5 separate regions of the Homo sapiens genome follow, and regions 1, 2, 3 and 5 are each linked to region 4. The links are contacts of gene promoters, found by promoter capture Hi-C in blood cells and fetal thymus (Javierre and others, 2016). All regions are on one chromosome and are shown on one strand. The core of a region is centred on a gene start or on the middle of the fragment in contact, and the rest is flanking DNA. Distances in the headings are between cores, read along the strand shown.

Region 1 (3,218 bases), core at 212-2,711, 740 kb after region 4:
GGGCAACAGAGTGAGACTCCGTGTCAAATAAAACAAAACAAACAAAAATATTATGTCTGTCTTGTCTTGTAACGACCAGTCTCACCCATTTTGGTTTCCTTCAGAACCCTGCATGGTAGCCTGCACTTGGCAGGTGCTGGATAAATATTTGTTGAATTGCAATTGGTAACTGATTAGAAAGTGGGGCAGGGGCCAAAAATAACCAAAAGCTTAGGCCTGGGTGATGGGAGAGAGGAGGATGCCAGGAGAAGCTGGTCAAGGTCAAAGAGAAGTTGAATTTGACCTGCCAGCAGGCAATCTAGCTGACATGAAATCTTGGGATGTAGCTAGAAGGGATAGGGGTTTTAAGAAGCACCCTCACCTTCATGCCCACTCCAGCTGGGGAGACAATGGCTGTGTTTAAGAGCACAAATTTTGGGCTCAGAAGTCATTTTCTGGTCAGCCACTAGCCGAGTACCAAGTTATGCTGTCTCTCTGAGCCTCAGTTTTCTCACCTATAAAAGTGGGCTAATGGCCGGGCATGGTGGCTCACACCTGTAATCCCAGCACTTTGGGAGGCCAAGGCGGGTGGATCACGAGGTCAGGAGTTTCAGACCAGCCTGGCCAAGATGGTGAAACCCTGTCACTACTAAAAATACAAAACTTAGCCAGGCGTGGTGGCACGTGCCTGTAATCCCAGCTACTCGGGAGGCTGAGGCAGGAGAATAGCTTGAACACGGGAGGTGGAGGTTGCAGTGAGCCGAGATTATGCTACCGCACTCCAGCCTGGGTGACAGAGCTAGACTCCGTCTTAAAAAAAAAAAAAAAAAGTGGGATAATGTAGTACTTTATCAGGCTATCGTAAAGGCAAAAGTGATGTTAAATGTATTAGTATCTGGGATAAATGACAGCTAGAGTTATTAGTTATTACTCTTCCTAAGGTTAGGAGAAGGAGCATACAGAAGTCACATCACGTCACTTCCCTGAGTAAAGCCAGCCATGGCTCCCTGTGGTGTCGAATGAAATGCAAGCTCCTGCCTGGGGTTCCTCAGGCCCTCTGTGATCACGTTCCTGCTCATCAGTTGTCCAGCAAGTCCTGTCCCTCACAGAGTTCTGCCTGGCTGTCCCCTGAGCACAGCCAGCTGTTTTGCTGCCTTAGGGCCTTTGCATTTCTCTTTTCCTTTGCTCAGAATGTCTTTTGCCAGATCTTGCACGTGTGGCTCTTTTTGGGGGTATTCAAATCAAGATACGGTGTCTTGGCTTCCTGAGGTTTAAGTCTCAGCTAAAACATCACCTCCTCAAATAAACTTTTCCTGACCAAGGCCCCCCGCTGTACCCTCGAGTGCATCCCCGTTTGATACTCTCCACAGTACTTGTCAGGATCTGTAGTGACCTTGGGTACTGTTAATTTGCATGTCTGTCCACCCTCATCCCTGCCCTGCCCTCTTGATGAAGGCACCATGAGAGCGGCAACCTTGTCTGGTTTAATTCTAGATCCCCAGCACCTTGAACAGCACAGGGCGCACAGGAGCCACTCAACAAATACTTGTCAAGTGAATAACCCATACTGAGATGTAGGAGGAGGAGTGATGGTTGATGGGGAAAAGTCCAGAGAGGGTGGAGGAGAAGGGCTCAAAAGTGCAGGTGGAAGAGCTGGTCTTGGCGAGGAGGACCGCTTATTCTCAGACAGATGGAAAGGGGGAGGGATGAGGTTAAGCTGAAGACATTTTGATGTGCAGGGGGCAAGGCTGTTTTGACATTTTCACAAAGTAAAGGGTACAGTCACTTGCTGGGAGCTGAAGGGCAGCAGAAGCGGGTTCTGGGCCTGGAGGCCCATGGAGGGCTTGGGAATAATTGCACTAGCTGCCATTTATTTAGCACTTAGGCACCAGGCACTGTTCCAAGGCCTGGAAATGTAGTATCTGATCTCATCCTCATGATGATACTATGAGGAAAGGTGCTATCATTACTTTTAAGATGTGGAAACACCTTCAATACGTACAATTTGTCTTCTCAATTATACCCAATAAAGCTGGAGAGAAAAGACATGGAAACCAAGGCACAGAGACGTCAATTAACTTTTGATCAGGGTCACACATCTAGAAGTGGCAGAGCTGGGATTTGAACTCAGGCAGTCTGGTCATTAGAGCCTATGTGAAGAACCACTATAGCTTCCTGCCTCCCCAGGCCCCGTGGAGCAGGTACGTGAGGTCATCAAGAGAGGAAGAGGAAGATTGTGGAAGAGTACATGGCAAGCCCAGGGGCAGTCAGCCAGCATGCTATACCAGGAAGCCCAGGAATGAGGGCAGAGAGTCAATGGGACAGGGCGGGTGACTTAGGGTTAGGCACAGCAAAGATGGGGACTGAGGCAAGAAAGAGAGAGGAAGGAGTTTTCTGGGTAAACAGCACATGCAAAGGCCCTGAGGCTGGAAAGAGTTCAGCTCACTGGGAGGAGTAAAAGGACAGTATCAGAGTATATTGGCAGGGGTGAGGAAGGGTTATGGTAGGCAGAGGTCAGATCCTTTAGGGTGGTATTCTCAAAGTGTGGTCCTGCATCAAAATGCTCTTGGGTCCTGATTTAGAATGCAGACTCCTGTGCCTCCTCTCAGACCAACTGACTCAGAATTTCTGGAGCCTAGGAATCTGCTTTTTAACAATGTATCCAGGTGATTCTTCTGCACATGAAGATTTGAGACCCATTGATGCAGGGCCTGGTGGGCCATGGCGAAGCTTAGGTTTCATTGTAAATGTCGCTGAAGGGTTATCAACAGGGGAGGGATGAGACTGATGTAATTAAGTCATGCTGCCTGCTGCGTGGAAAATGGATTGGAGGGCAGCAAAGTTAAAAAGACCAGGCAGGGCATGGTGGGCTCATGCCTCTAATCCCAGCACTTTGTGAAGCCAAGGTGGGAGGACTGCTTGAGCCCAGGAGTTTGAGACCAGCCTGGGCAACACAGGGGGACCCTACCTCTACAATTATTTTTTTTTTAATTAGCCAGGCTTGGTAATGTGCGCCTACAGTCCCAGCTACTCGGAGGCTGAGGTGGGAGCATCGCTTGAACCTGGGAAGTCAGGCTGCAGCAGTGAGCCGATCATGCCACTGCACTCCAGCTGAGGCAACAGAGTAAGACCCTGTCTCAAAAAAGAAAAAAAAGAGAGAGAGAGAGAAAGAAGACTAGGCAGGAGGCCATGACGACACCCTAAGAAGGGATGATGGTGGTGGCCTTGACCAATAAAAT
Region 2 (3,321 bases), core at 183-2,682, 550 kb before region 4:
ACTAGACTAAATTCCACAGTTGGCATAGACTATTAAAACTGGGATATTGGGATATTGGCAATCCCAGCCTGGCCATTTCATGGCAAGCAAGCTGAGGCTAAGAGAGTAGAAGTGACTTGACCAAGATCAAACAGTGAAGAAAATCAGGAGACGTCAGTTCTTCTGACTCCTTATCCAGTGTTCATTCTGTGGTTCCCTTGTCAGCTTTCAGACAGGTGAAACCAAACCTTGCTGTGTGTTCTTTGCAGGAGCTTGAGCTGATTAGACTCTCAGGGTTTGGTGCAAGTTTGATTGATTCAGAAAACATGAAACTTTGTTCTGGTTCAAATCAGCTTGCTAGTTTTTGTTGCTTTCAAACTGTTACAATTTCTGTTTTGTTTGGAATTTAGCAAATTAGTTCTGTGTCTTCCCGTTTAAGTTCATGGTTTGGTTCAAGTTCTTAGTTCTTTGAAATCTTCCACTAGGACTTTTGTTTTTGACAAAAATACTCAGAATCTGGGGTGGCTAGTGATGGAAATTCATTTGAAAAAAATCAGTCAGGCTTGGTGACGGCTGCCGAGGAGGAGCTTGGGTGGTTTAGGGAACCATTAGTGCTTACATTCTGGAGCTTGAAATCGGGATAATGGAAACAGTGCAATGGTTTTTGGTATGCGTGTTTGTTTTTATAAGGATGCTTTCATTGCCCTTCTTGCTAACCTGGGTTGAAACTACTGCCTCCCACCTCATTGCCTTTTGGGACACTCTGTCAGTCATATTCCTCATTTTTTGACTGTCAGAAAGAAGCTAACAAAAAAAAAATCATCTTTCCTGTCCTTTCCCTTTACTTTGAATGGCCCTTCTGAGGAACTTGGGGAATATGAATTTCAAGCTTAAATTTGTGAAGGAGTTTAGTTGCAATGCCCAAAGGGAGAACAGTCCTATTCTGAAATACAGCCTTTGTTCCTTTCTTACCAATGTGGTTTTAAAAGTCACAGGCAAGCCTCCTTTGCTGAACCTGAAATTGGACTGACACCTTCCTTAGTGGGCAGCCATGCTGCCAGTGAGGCTGTGGTGGACGGTAGCAGGGATGAGGCCTCTGGAGAATTGTATCCCACCTGACTCACTTTCTGAATGGCAGAGGAAAGTGAGATCTGGTGCTAGGGCTGTCAGTACCTTTTCAGGCTCTTGACTGTTTCCCTAAGCAGTTGGAAGGCTAGGTTTGCAGCTTTGATGGTTAGGGGGCCACTCCCAATACCTCAAAAGACAAGCACTTTTTATTATAGTAGGTGAGACTTTGGATGATTTCAGCAAGTATGTTTCTGATTAGAAAGCTCTCACTTTAGATTCATTTTCTCTTTTCTCCACCCCTCCCCTCTGTTTCCCTCCTCCTCTCTTGTCTTTTTCTCCCCTTCCCCCTTTCAGCAGCTCACTTGCTCTTAGCTACCAATTACCTGTTATGTGATTAATATTATCCTTTTCCCAATTGGCTTAACATAGATTTTGGATATATATTTTACTGGCATCTTCAGTAGTAGCAATGACGTTCAAAGGGGCAATTAGAAAAAGTTTTCTTTCTTCTTACAAGAAGTAGGATGGGCACTTGTTTGAGGGCACAGATAGCACTGGATGGGACCAAGAGGAGCTGACATCTGATATCCCTGCTCTATCCCCCACCTTTCTTTTGGCTGCTTCAGATTTGGTTCATGTGGACAAACACACTTGGGAACCACCATACAGATGGAAATCAGGACATGTGGGATTTGGCTGAACCAAAGATCCCCAAACATTGCCTGGATCATTTAGTGCCCCAGGTGTGGCCACCCCAGGACTTCATGTGCTAAAATTGTGTCCCAGCTGAAGCCAGCTGGTCACTGTATACATAGGATCAAGGCAGCTTGGAGCCTCATAAAGCATAACTTTGGATTTTTACCTTGTGGATTTAGATTTAGTTAATCACCTTGAATCCTCCCCCAACACACTGGGCAATGAGGATGTAACAGGCAAATAGAAAGCTTGAACAAAAGGAGATGCTCATTATCTAGTAGTTTGCATTCCAGATGGGACATAATGCTAGACCATATGAAGAAAAATGGACTGACTTTCCAGAAAGGAAAGAGAGAATTTAGAGGGCTCCAGTCTCTTTAATAAACTTTTGATGTATTATTTTAAAATTTTCTCAAAAACGTTCCCTGCTATAGAATTTTAAGAGCAAACAGCGATTCCGTCTAATTTAAAAATTGTAAGAATTGAGCAGTGTTTCATGAAATTATATTAGTTCTTTCTTTTTATTTGCCTTATGTGATAGAGGTGCCTCACTTCAATCATTAAGGCAAGATTTGTTTAGGGCATGGTAGTAATAATCCCATACAATTGTATAACCCTTTACAATTTACAAAAGGGTTTTCATACCTATTATCTCATTAGCTGTTCACAGCAATCCTGTGAGACAGTCAGGATAGGTACTATTATCTCCAGTTAACAAATAAAGGGAACTTAGGCTCAAAGAAGTTAAGTGACTTGGCCAGAGTCACATAGTTAGAAAGTTGTAGAACTGGAAGCTGAACCCAGGTTTCCTGATACCCAGCCCCAGTGCTCCTTCGGTTGTATCATGTTTCCTCCCAAAGACACTATCTCCTTTTTGTTCCTACTCGTGATTAATTTTAAAATCCGTCTAAAAATGAGCTTTAGTTTAGTGGATGAGTAAAACTGAAGCACTTACATGTAAAGTGCTTTCTCAAGTCACCTAATGAAGTGGGTCCTGCACATAGCTCTTGGCTTTTCACCTTCATTTTAACTGAACTATTTTTAGGTAGACATAGATTTGTTTTTCAGTGTTAAATATATGGACAAAAGTTGTGTGATCCACTGATTATAGGTGTGAAAGCTGCGCTTGGGGAATGGGACTAGGGATGAAGAATTGCCTTAAAATAATTAGCTTCTTGCCTTTGTGTTAAGAGATGTCATGTTCAATAGAATTTAATTTCTTTATACTTCCTTTGCTTCCAGCCTTTTAAAAATACAATTCTTTAGGGAAAATTAGCAAATATTCATTCTGAATGTTGATTTCTCAGGAATAAGGGTAGCCAGAGGAAAGAAAAAGCAAAGGGGTGACTTTCTGTGCCCTGTAAGAGTGGGCAAACATTATTTTGTTTGGAGCTGTGAGCTAAGATTTCTTCCAAGGCATGCAAATCGTAAAGTTCTGATTTGTCAACTGCATGCTGTTTCTTTAGGCACTGATGTATGAAATCCCGAACGAATTCTCCAATGAACATACTGCTAATTGCTTCTCCACCTGCTCTCCAACCTCCTCCACCCCACCCCCTCCACTCCCAATTCAGCCTA
Region 3 (3,315 bases), core at 17-2,516, 760 kb after region 4:
AAAAACACTACGGACAAATTAACAAGTTATTCCTGTTATTTCAAACTTTTGATATTGTTCTCCCAACAGATATGTCCCCAAGCAAATATAGTTTCTCTACCCATCCCTCAACTTTTTTCATCTCCGTATTTACAACTTAGCCACATCTGGCAAGTTCAAGTCTTGTCTCCTTTCAATTAGTCCATTCTACAAGTAACACCAGAATGTTCTTCCAACTATATCAATTTGCAACCTCATACTAATCAGCAAACCCTTCTGATGGTTCTAGATACCCTCTGGCTCATGCATAAACTTATCTATTGACTTCAAGACTCTCTACCACCTGCCCCATTCTCCCTAACCAGCTTCATACATTCTTATCCTTGATCTTCACTTGTCCCAGGGAAATCTTACAGTTTTTCATACATGGTCTTTTCACTTTCACCTTCTACCCTTTATTCAAGATGTCCTCTAAGCCTGGAAGAGCCTGCTCACCCACTATATTAATAAGTGTTTCTTAAGTACTTGGACTTGACTGAAAATACTTCTATAACTAACTCCAAATCACCTTCCTAGTTCACTTTATTCTTATGTGCTAAACTTATTTCTCAGTCATGTTAATGTTACATGTATCAAATATTCATTAAAATGAAAACAGGCTGATTCTGATTTCTATAGGGATTAGCTGGTCAGTCAATAAGCTTTTATAGCATATAAGGGCTTGAATAAACAACATAGGAAAGGAACCTATTGTTAATACAAACTACAACCTTCATAGCAGTCACTTTAAACGACTTTCCAAAATACTGACTTACCAAGCACACCAGACATTAGCCAGTAAAGGTGGTTAATGTTCAGATTATCTTTAACCAAACTCCCTATTAACCATGACTTAAAGTTTAGCCATATTTTATGTGCAAATATACTTTCATCACCACTAAATTATGGGAACTCACATAAACTCCATAATACTTTGTATCCAGTGTGTAATGAATCAATATTGAGGATTATTTGCTACTTAATATTCTAGTTAATATAACAGAAAAATCTATCTTAATTCTGAAAAACAATAAAGATGATTACAAATGGTAGATTTTCATCCGTTTCCCACTTGTGCTAATCTCAACTATTCTAGGAGTGGCAAAGTCACTATTATGAAAAGGGCTGGAAGGATGAAAAATAATTATGTCAGTTATTTCATTCTGCATTTGGTGGGAAGATGGTGTGGCATAAGGATCTTTCTAAAACAGTGCATAAGGATCTTTCTAAAACAGTACATAGAGAGACAACACATACATTGAACTCGTTTCTGGCTTTACCAAAATTTTAGAGCAAATAATACAACAGAGGGCAGGTACCATTATTAACAGCATCATCTCATGAGATTTGAAATACGATATTGGGTCTTGGGGAAAAAAAACATGAATACTATACCTGAGGAATCATTTCAGAAGGTCAAAATCAAGTCACAACAGAGTGAGAAGGTATTAAAGATGGGATACTAATTGTTTTTAGATTTCTTGTTTACTGCTCCACAGTAATGCAGGTTGAGTATTCCCAATCCAGAAATCCAAAATGCTCCAAAACTCGAAACTTTTTGAGTACTGTCATGATGATCAAAGGAAATGCTCATTGAAGCATTTCAGATTTCCGATTTCCAGATTAGGGAAGCTGAACTGGTAAGTATATAATGCATATATTTGAAAATCTGAAAAAGATTGAAATCTGAAACACTTTTGGTCCCAAGCATTTTGGATAATGGATAATCAACCTGTATAGATAATTTCCTCATCAATGAGATACAGGAATTTAATAACACTGAAATGCAACAGACTGTGAAAAGAACCCTAAATCCTACAAAATAAAAGCTTTAAAAGAAAAATGATGTCCACACACATACAATTTAATAAAAACTCAGAAATTCTGTAATTAAAAATGATCAGGGTTCTATTATTTTAACCCTCAATCACTTGTGCACAAAAAGAAGGAAAAAGGCTTCCCAAAGAGCCATTCATTCCTCTAATGATTTTGGTTCCTTTCTGTTCATGGGCAAACATGGTAAAATTACCTGATAGTATACTTTACATAAAATAAAAACTTTATGAGGGTTGAGCCTCTTCTGGCCAATCCCAGAATATGAAAAACTGCAAAGTTTTTCATATTAATGGCTTTGCAGTTTTTCATATTAATGGCAAAGATATTCTAATATCTTCACTGACTCTGACTAAAAATAAGGGTAGGTTCCTGTTTACATGAAGGTGGAAGGAGAGAGTATAAATGGGATAAGTTTAAAAAAAAAAAAAACAAGAAGGAAACAACCAGAAAAATTTAGGAAATGGTTGACCCTTGACTGGACATTTGTACTGGACTCTTAAAAAAGTCAATGTCACTAAAGAAAGTAGGAACTGTACTACTCCAATAGAGACTTCAGAGACCTCACCAAATACTATATGAACCCAGATTGGATTTTGGTTTAAAAAAAGGTATAACAGAAATTCTTGGGACAACTGAAGAAATCTGAATATGGACCGAATGTTAAATGATACTATGGATTACTGTTAGTTTTCTTATACATAATAATGGTATTGTGCTTAAGTGTGCCCTTTTTGTTAAGAGATGCAGGCTGAAGTGTTCAGTGGTGAAGTGACATATTACCACTAAATTTTACATGACACAGCAAAAAACATCTGTGTGTATATATGTACAGAAGGCATGTGGGGGTGTGTTGTACTGTTCTTTCCATTTTTCTGCACATTTGACATTTTTCATAATAAAAAGCTGAAACAAAGAAAGCTGGGAAATAATGTCTGAGATGAAGGAAAGGGGGTAGGAGAAATAAGAAAAACAACTTCATCATCCAAAATGTATTCTAAAAGGTGAAATACTAAAATCTAAAAGACAGAAATATAATGTTAGGAGAAAAACAATTATCATGAAAAACAGCAGAACGGTAGGATATGAATTTCTGAAGAAAATGGTTCTCTCTCAAACAGAGGTAATATACTCAGTCATGAGGGCTCTGGGGAAATAAGTATAATTCCAAGAAAGAATGCCGGGGCTGGACTCAGTGTTTTAATCTGCTATCTGAGTCACAGCTAAAACAATTCCATGGCAACAGAACAGATCGGACTCAGACAAGCCAGCAGCCTGCCTGCTGGTCTAGACCTCCCTGCTAGATACAATCACTCGCTCTGGCTAGGCCTAAAGGATCCATGTGAATACTAATGGTAAGGATAACGTATGCTGTCACCTCACCTAATTTTCTTTGGTAAAAAAACCAAGAATATACTTTTGTAGCCCAAAGAGATTCTGCATACAATCCAACAATATTTTCAT
Region 4 (3,014 bases), core at 27-2,526:
GACTACAACCAGCATGGGATTGACTAATTTGAAAATTGCCGAGGTGAGAGAACCTAAATTGAACCTTGAGAGACGGTAGGTACAACCTGGTTAGGTGCAGGTAAGGGAGAGGGGCAGGGAAGAGAGAATGAACAGAAACACAAATGTGGGAACAAGCACAGCATGTAGAAGCAGGCATCAGTATGGTTTGTGCCAAGAAGAAAGGAACCTAACTGGAACAGAGAATTCCCTTGTTGACTGAAACAGTATCAGACAAGAAGTGTGATAAGGAGCATGTTATGTTGAAAGGCTTGAAACCAAGGGGTGGGGGTAGGGGGTGTAGGAGGGGGCTGCATGTTTTGTGTGTGTGTGTTTAACAACGAAGTGACTTGAGGAAATCCACCACATTTTAGCCTATTAGGGCTGCAGCAAACACAGTGGATTACATTACAAACGGGAGAGGCAGGGAGACTAGCTTAGGATGGTGCAAAGTACAGCAGACAAAGATGCTTGTTGGCACTGAGGTTAGAGATAGACTTCCCCAATGAAGACACAAAGAACTCGATGATGTAGGGAATGAAGACGAGGGAAGAGTTCATGATAACGCTAGGCATCTCTAGGCTGGGGGGAAAAACAACAACAACAAGGAATCACTGACAGGAAACCATAAATGTCCCTGCTGTTATCCTGTCTGAGAAACTAATTCATGTTGATAACAGCTGTCATGCCAATCAAGTAACTGAACTGCATTTTAATAGATGCCTTCAATGCCTTGACCTCAGGAGTGACAGGGGGTAGAAACCGAAGGGGAGCATCTTTCAACAGTATCCCTTACACTAATACAATGGAGGTGTTTGCTTACTCCGCTTACAATCACGGCCGCCGTTGCAAACTTCACCCTTAGAAAAATTAGGATTATTCCGGGAAAGATACCCATTCACCCTCTGGGTAGCAGGATCTTGCCAGTTCCTCAGCTGTCAGAGCGAGCTCGTGGAGAGAAGGGAGGCGCCTGAAGAAGGCGGCCTCCCAGGGGGGTCGAGGAAGCAGGGTTCAATCGAAGAAGTAAAACCACCGATGCCAGAAGAGTGAAAGACAGGGAAGGGACTCAGCTGAGGGGAGAGAGAGACCAGAGGACCGTTAAGCCCCTCCCAGGCCGGGAACCAGGCCAGCCCGGCCCCGCGCGGCCTGGCGCGGCCCAGCCCCGCTCCCCAGCCTGGAAGTCCAGGAGCTCCCCCTCACCTGCTCGGGCTCATCGGACGACTGGGAAGCTGAGGCTCCCACAGTCGGAAACGCCACTGCAGCGCCAACCCGGAAGCATTGAAACCAACGGAAGTAACCAAAGCGTTGCTTCGGCAACCGCGGCGCAGCCATTTCAACTCCGCCCCTTCCAAAACTAAAAACAAAGGCGCGAAATAAGAGGCGGAAGCGGCAGAGTTCTAAAGGCGAGGGTCGGAACCACTGCAGGCGCAGAAGCCTAGAGGGGCAACCGGACTTGCGGGAGGTGGAGGCAGGGCAGCTAAGGCGTGAGAATTTGGTAGCTTCCCCAGTTAACGTGCTCGCCAGAGGGGAAAGAGGTGTCGCCTCGTCACCGCGAAACCCACCCACCTGGCGCGTAGAAGGACTAGAAAAGGAAGGGGCCTCGCCCCGGTATCAGGGCTTGAGGAGTGGGTCAAGGGGAGTGGTGGGCGTAGTGCCCTGCGCGCTCAGTACGAAAAAGGCGGCAACGTGGAGGGGGTGGGGCAAAGGCTTCAAAACAAAAGTAGGAAAGTGAGACATAGGGGTGAGCCGAATTTAGTGAGGTGCCTGGGCTCAATGAGAAAATAAAGTTCAAGGCCAGGCGCGGTGGCTCACGCCTGTAATCTCAACACTTTGAGGGTCCGGGCGCATCACTTGATGCCAGGAGTTTTGAGACCAGCCTGGCCAACATGGTGAAATCCCGTCTCTAGTAAAAATGCAAAAAAATTAGCTGGGTGTGGTGGCACGCACCTGTGGTCCCAGCTACTCGGGAGGCTGAGGCAGGAGAGTCACTTGAACCCCGGAGGTGGAGGTTGCAGTGAGCTGAGATCACGCCACTGCCCTCTAGCCTGGGTGACAAAGCAAGACTCCATCCAAGAAAGGAGAGAAAGAGAGAGAGAGAGAAAGAGAAAGGAAGGAGGGAGGGAGAGAGAGAAAGAAAAGAGAAAGGGAGAGAAAGGAAGGGGGGGAGGGAAAGAAGGGAGGGAGGGACGGAGAATGATCCAGACAGCACCTACTGGACGTCAGACATTAACCAGTGAAAAATTACGGTCAGACCCCTTACTCGAAGCTCTTGCTTTAATCAGAAACTTCACTTAAGAAAGAGCAAGTTGGATACCAAAAAGGGGACCACAAAAAGCTAAACAGATGAGGCAGAAAAACACCAACGGGAAATCCCAGTTAATCCAAACCTCATAATCCACCAGAAGATGCCAAGAGTCCGACCCCCAGCTTCCGACTCTGGCCCCTCTGGCTGCTGGAAGGGGAAACCGCAAAGCCCCTGGGTGATTCCATTAGCCAATGTGCTATGACGTCCGATTTTTGAGCTATGACGTCCGATTTTTGAGCCTCTTAACAACGTTCCCTAATCACGCGAGAGTACGCAATAATAGGGTTTATTGCTTATGTGTTATAAGGAAAAGTCAGTGCAAGTTGGCCCTAAATGGTTATTTGTTGAATGAATAAATATTTGGAACTATGTTCTTCCAAAAGGATATTTCTCATTTTAGTTCACCTTGTTTTATTTTGTTGGGTTTTGTTTGTTTTTTTTTGGACAGAGTCTCACTTTGTGGTCCAGGCTGGAGTGCAGTGGTGCGATCTCGGCTCACTGCAACCTCCACCTCCCAGGTTCAAGCGATTCTCCTGCCTCAGCCTCCTGAGTAGCTGGGATTACAGGTGCCTGCTACCACACCCAGCTAATTTTTGTATTTTTAGTAGAGACGGGGTTTCGCCATGTTGGCCATGCTGATCGCCAACTCCTGGCCTCAGGTGATCCACCCGCCTTGGCCCCTCAAAGTGCT
Region 5 (2,974 bases), core at 407-2,906, 570 kb before region 4:
GTGTGGTGGTTCATGCCTGTAATCCCAACACTTTGGGAGGCCAAGGCGGGTGGAACACCTGAGGTCAGAAGTTTGAGACCAGCCTGGCCAACATGGTGAAGCCCGTCTCTGCTGAAAATACAAAAAAATTAGCTGGGCGTGGGGGTGGGTGCCTGTAATCCCAGTTACTTGGGAGGCTGAGGCAGGAGAATCACTTGAACTCAGGAGGCAGACGTTGCAGTGAGCCAAGACCGCGCCATTGCACACCAGCCTGGGCAACAAGAACGAAACTCCGTCTCAAAAAAATCCCCAAAAAACAAACAAAACAAAACAAACAAACAAAAAACCAAATGGGACTTTCCATTTTTTGCAAGGTTTTCCAACTTGCATTAATTCCACAATTTATAAAAATGTCTGTCCTTCAAGAAGCACATATCTACTTCCCAGGGTTACCAGCTCCCTGGTCACCAGTTCTTTCCTTTCTTCTCAATCTCATGTGCTTGCCCTGTCCTTCTTAAGCAAAAATTCTGAGACACCAAGGACATTGCTGGTCCTGATTCAGTAAACGGCCTCTCTTTATGGTTTCTTCCCTGCATCATTCCTACCATTTCACTTGTATGAATCCACTTTTTTAACCTTTTATGACAACTTTATTGATGTATAATTACCAATCACTATCACCACAGGCTGAGCAAACAGTCTCTTAAGCTTGGTCACAGAGCAAGCTGCCAACACTGAATGCAGATCCTGTGTTTAACCCTGACCACCAGCCAAACACCTAACCCAAGACATAGCCTAAACTCCTAACTCTGAACTTGGAGGCTTAACTCCAATTTCACACCAAGCCTTTAACCCTGGCCACAAATGAAGACCCTAATTCTATCCACAAACTGAGCCACTTTCTGGCCACACTCCAAGGTCTTAATCCTGATTAAATCAAGTCCCTAGGCCTAGTTACATACTGACTGTCTACATCTGGCCCAAGAGTAAGTACTTAAGACTGGTCCCAACCTGAATCTCTAACCCTGATCCCCTATTGAACCATAACTATGGCTACTGTATAAGTCCTTAATTCACGATACAGGGATCAAAAATAACATCAGATATAGCCCCTAAGTCTGTCCCCAGGCTGAGTCTCTAAACTAGGCTACAGACTGCATGACCTAACTCTGGGATATACTTAACATCCTGAACTGACCACAAAATGAGTGCTCAGCATAGATACTAACTGAGCTCTAGCCCTGACTACAGACTGAGGCTCTAACTTGGTCACAGCCTGAGATCTGATCTTGGAAACCAACCCAGCTACAATTTCCCAGACTTAGCACTAACCAGAAAATGACCCCAACATTGGCAACAGAATGACTACTAAACTTGGCCTCATACAGAGACGAAAACATGTACAGAGACCAGACTCTAAACTTGTCCCAACTCTGTGCCTTAATCATGGCCAAGAAGTGAAACCAAATCTTCCACAAAACTTGAGAATATTTTGACCACAGCATATGTCCTAATCCTGACTATAGACAGAACCCTGAACATGGCCACAAACTGAGTCTTAACCATGTTCAAAGCCCAAGTTCTAAACCTGGACAGAGACTGGGTTCATAAATCTGATCAGGAAATAATCTACTGATCCTGGGACAGACTGAGCCCTATCACTGGCCACTGATTTGACCCCTAAACCTTACAGCTTCTAACTGGTTACAGACTGCATCTCTAACTCTAGCCATAGACTGAATTCCTAACTCTCATCACAGACTGAGCCCATAAGCCTAACCTCTGACATGAGCTTTCAACCTGAAAATAAATCTGATTTCTCCAAATGGCTAATGACTGATCCTGAATTTTTGAGATAGACTGAACCCTATCTCTGGCTAAATGTTCACCCGAGACTGGATCCCAATTTCAACCACAACTTTAACTTTAACCCTGGCTACCGACTGATTCCTAATACCAGAAATTAAGCTGCTCACCAGCACTGGGCAGAGACTGAACCCAAACCTTGAAGATGAATGAAGGACAAACTAGACAAAGACAAAACAAATACTTTTCATTTTCTTGGCCTAAAACCCTGCAACAGATTTAATTCTAACCCTGAGCACAGACGGAACTCACCATGGCTAAGATCTGAGCCCTCTTCCTGGCCACATTCTGAATACTGAGCTGGGATGAAGACTGTAAGTCCCACCACAGTCTGAGACCTAAAGGCCAAGCCCTAAGCCTGGTTAGAGAAATGATTCCTGACCCTACAAGACTAAATCAAAATCCTGCTCATATTATCAGATCTAACAACAGGCTGAGACTAAGTACTCACCTTTGTCACATATCAAGTCTTAAACCCATAAACAAAGTTCACTGTATTAGTGGCCACAAACTGAGTCCTAGCACTAGCTGGAGGTTGAGCAATCAGTCTGGTCACAAACTTAGTCCTCAATTGTGAATAGATGTACCCATGGCACTGGGCACATTATGGTCACTAACAATTAGCAAAGACTGAACTCTACTACTGATACCGAAATGCCTGCTACACTAAGCCAGAGTCTAAGTGCCAGACTGACAACAGGCAATGAACACTCTGAACTCAAACCCTGGCAACATCCTGATCCCAAAACCCTGATTACAGCCTGAGCCTCTAAAGCTTTCAATCTGGATTTTATGTGTTGTTTGTTCTCATCTCAACTCTATCCACTGACTGACAAATAACATCAACAGCTAATCCAAAAAACCTGTTTACACTCTTAGCCTTAAAACCTTCTTCATAGTAAGCCTTACCTTGGTTATTGGTAACTCCCAAACTCTGGTACAAGTTTAATCAGATAGCACTACCACCAATACTCAGTGAACACAAATGCTACATAAAGTCATAGTGGAATTACTCCCTCCAGACTCAACTCTGATAGTGGTCAAATTGAAATGGCTAATACAGGTCACCGACTGAGCCCTGCTCTGGCCACAGAATGAGGGCCAACACAGGCCACTGTGAGTTAGCTCC

Evidence for each region. The method cuts DNA at HindIII sites, captures the fragments that hold promoters and counts their contacts. A CHiCAGO score of 5 or more calls a contact.
Region 1: a contact is called between a fragment that was not itself captured here and the fragment with the promoter of SLC25A14 in region 4, in 1 of 17 cell types (total CD8 T cells). The highest score is 5.1, in total CD8 T cells.
Region 2: a fragment that was not itself captured here is called in contact with the fragment with the promoter of SLC25A14 in region 4 in 4 of 17 cell types (non-activated CD4 T cells, activated CD4 T cells, fetal thymus and 1 more); the score reaches 7.2 in non-activated CD4 T cells.
Region 3: a fragment that was not itself captured here is called in contact with the fragment with the promoter of SLC25A14 in region 4 in 2 of 17 cell types (non-activated CD4 T cells and naive B cells); the score reaches 6.1 in non-activated CD4 T cells.
Region 5: a contact is called between a fragment that was not itself captured here and the fragment with the promoter of SLC25A14 in region 4, in 11 of 17 cell types (activated CD4 T cells, total CD4 T cells, naive CD8 T cells and 8 more). The highest score is 9.3, in activated CD4 T cells.

The regions. Positions count from the first base shown.
Region 1 is chrX:129,594,164-129,597,381 of GRCh38, reverse strand. No RefSeq gene overlaps it. Among named protein-coding and RNA genes, the nearest start is that of OCRL, 56 kb to the right of the region's middle. The HindIII fragment of the contact is 2,500 bases long and covers 212-2,711 here.
Region 2 is chrX:130,887,629-130,890,949 of GRCh38, reverse strand. All of the region lies in intron 2 of ENOX2 (ecto-NOX disulfide-thiol exchanger 2), which reads left to right. Among named protein-coding and RNA genes, the nearest start is that of ENOX2, 14 kb to the left of the region's middle. The HindIII fragment of the contact is 1,123 bases long and covers 871-1,993 here.
Region 3 is chrX:129,577,416-129,580,730 of GRCh38, reverse strand. The region is part of intron 18 of OCRL (OCRL inositol polyphosphate-5-phosphatase); the gene reads right to left. Among named protein-coding and RNA genes, the nearest start is that of OCRL, 39 kb to the right of the region's middle. The HindIII fragment of the contact is 1,167 bases long and covers 683-1,849 here.
Region 4 is chrX:130,338,181-130,341,194 of GRCh38, reverse strand. SLC25A14 (solute carrier family 25 member 14) reads right to left here and starts at 1,276. Exons shown (of 11, transcript NM_001282195.2): 1 at 1,219-1,276; 2 at 842-1,088. The coding sequence starts at 916. RefSeq lists a silencer at 1,049-1,258 and an enhancer at 1,071-1,644. The HindIII fragment of the contact is 19,423 bases long and covers 1-3,014 here.
Region 5 is chrX:130,907,968-130,910,941 of GRCh38, reverse strand. No RefSeq gene overlaps it. Among named protein-coding and RNA genes, the nearest start is that of ENOX2, 6.2 kb to the right of the region's middle. The HindIII fragment of the contact is 1,933 bases long and covers 690-2,622 here.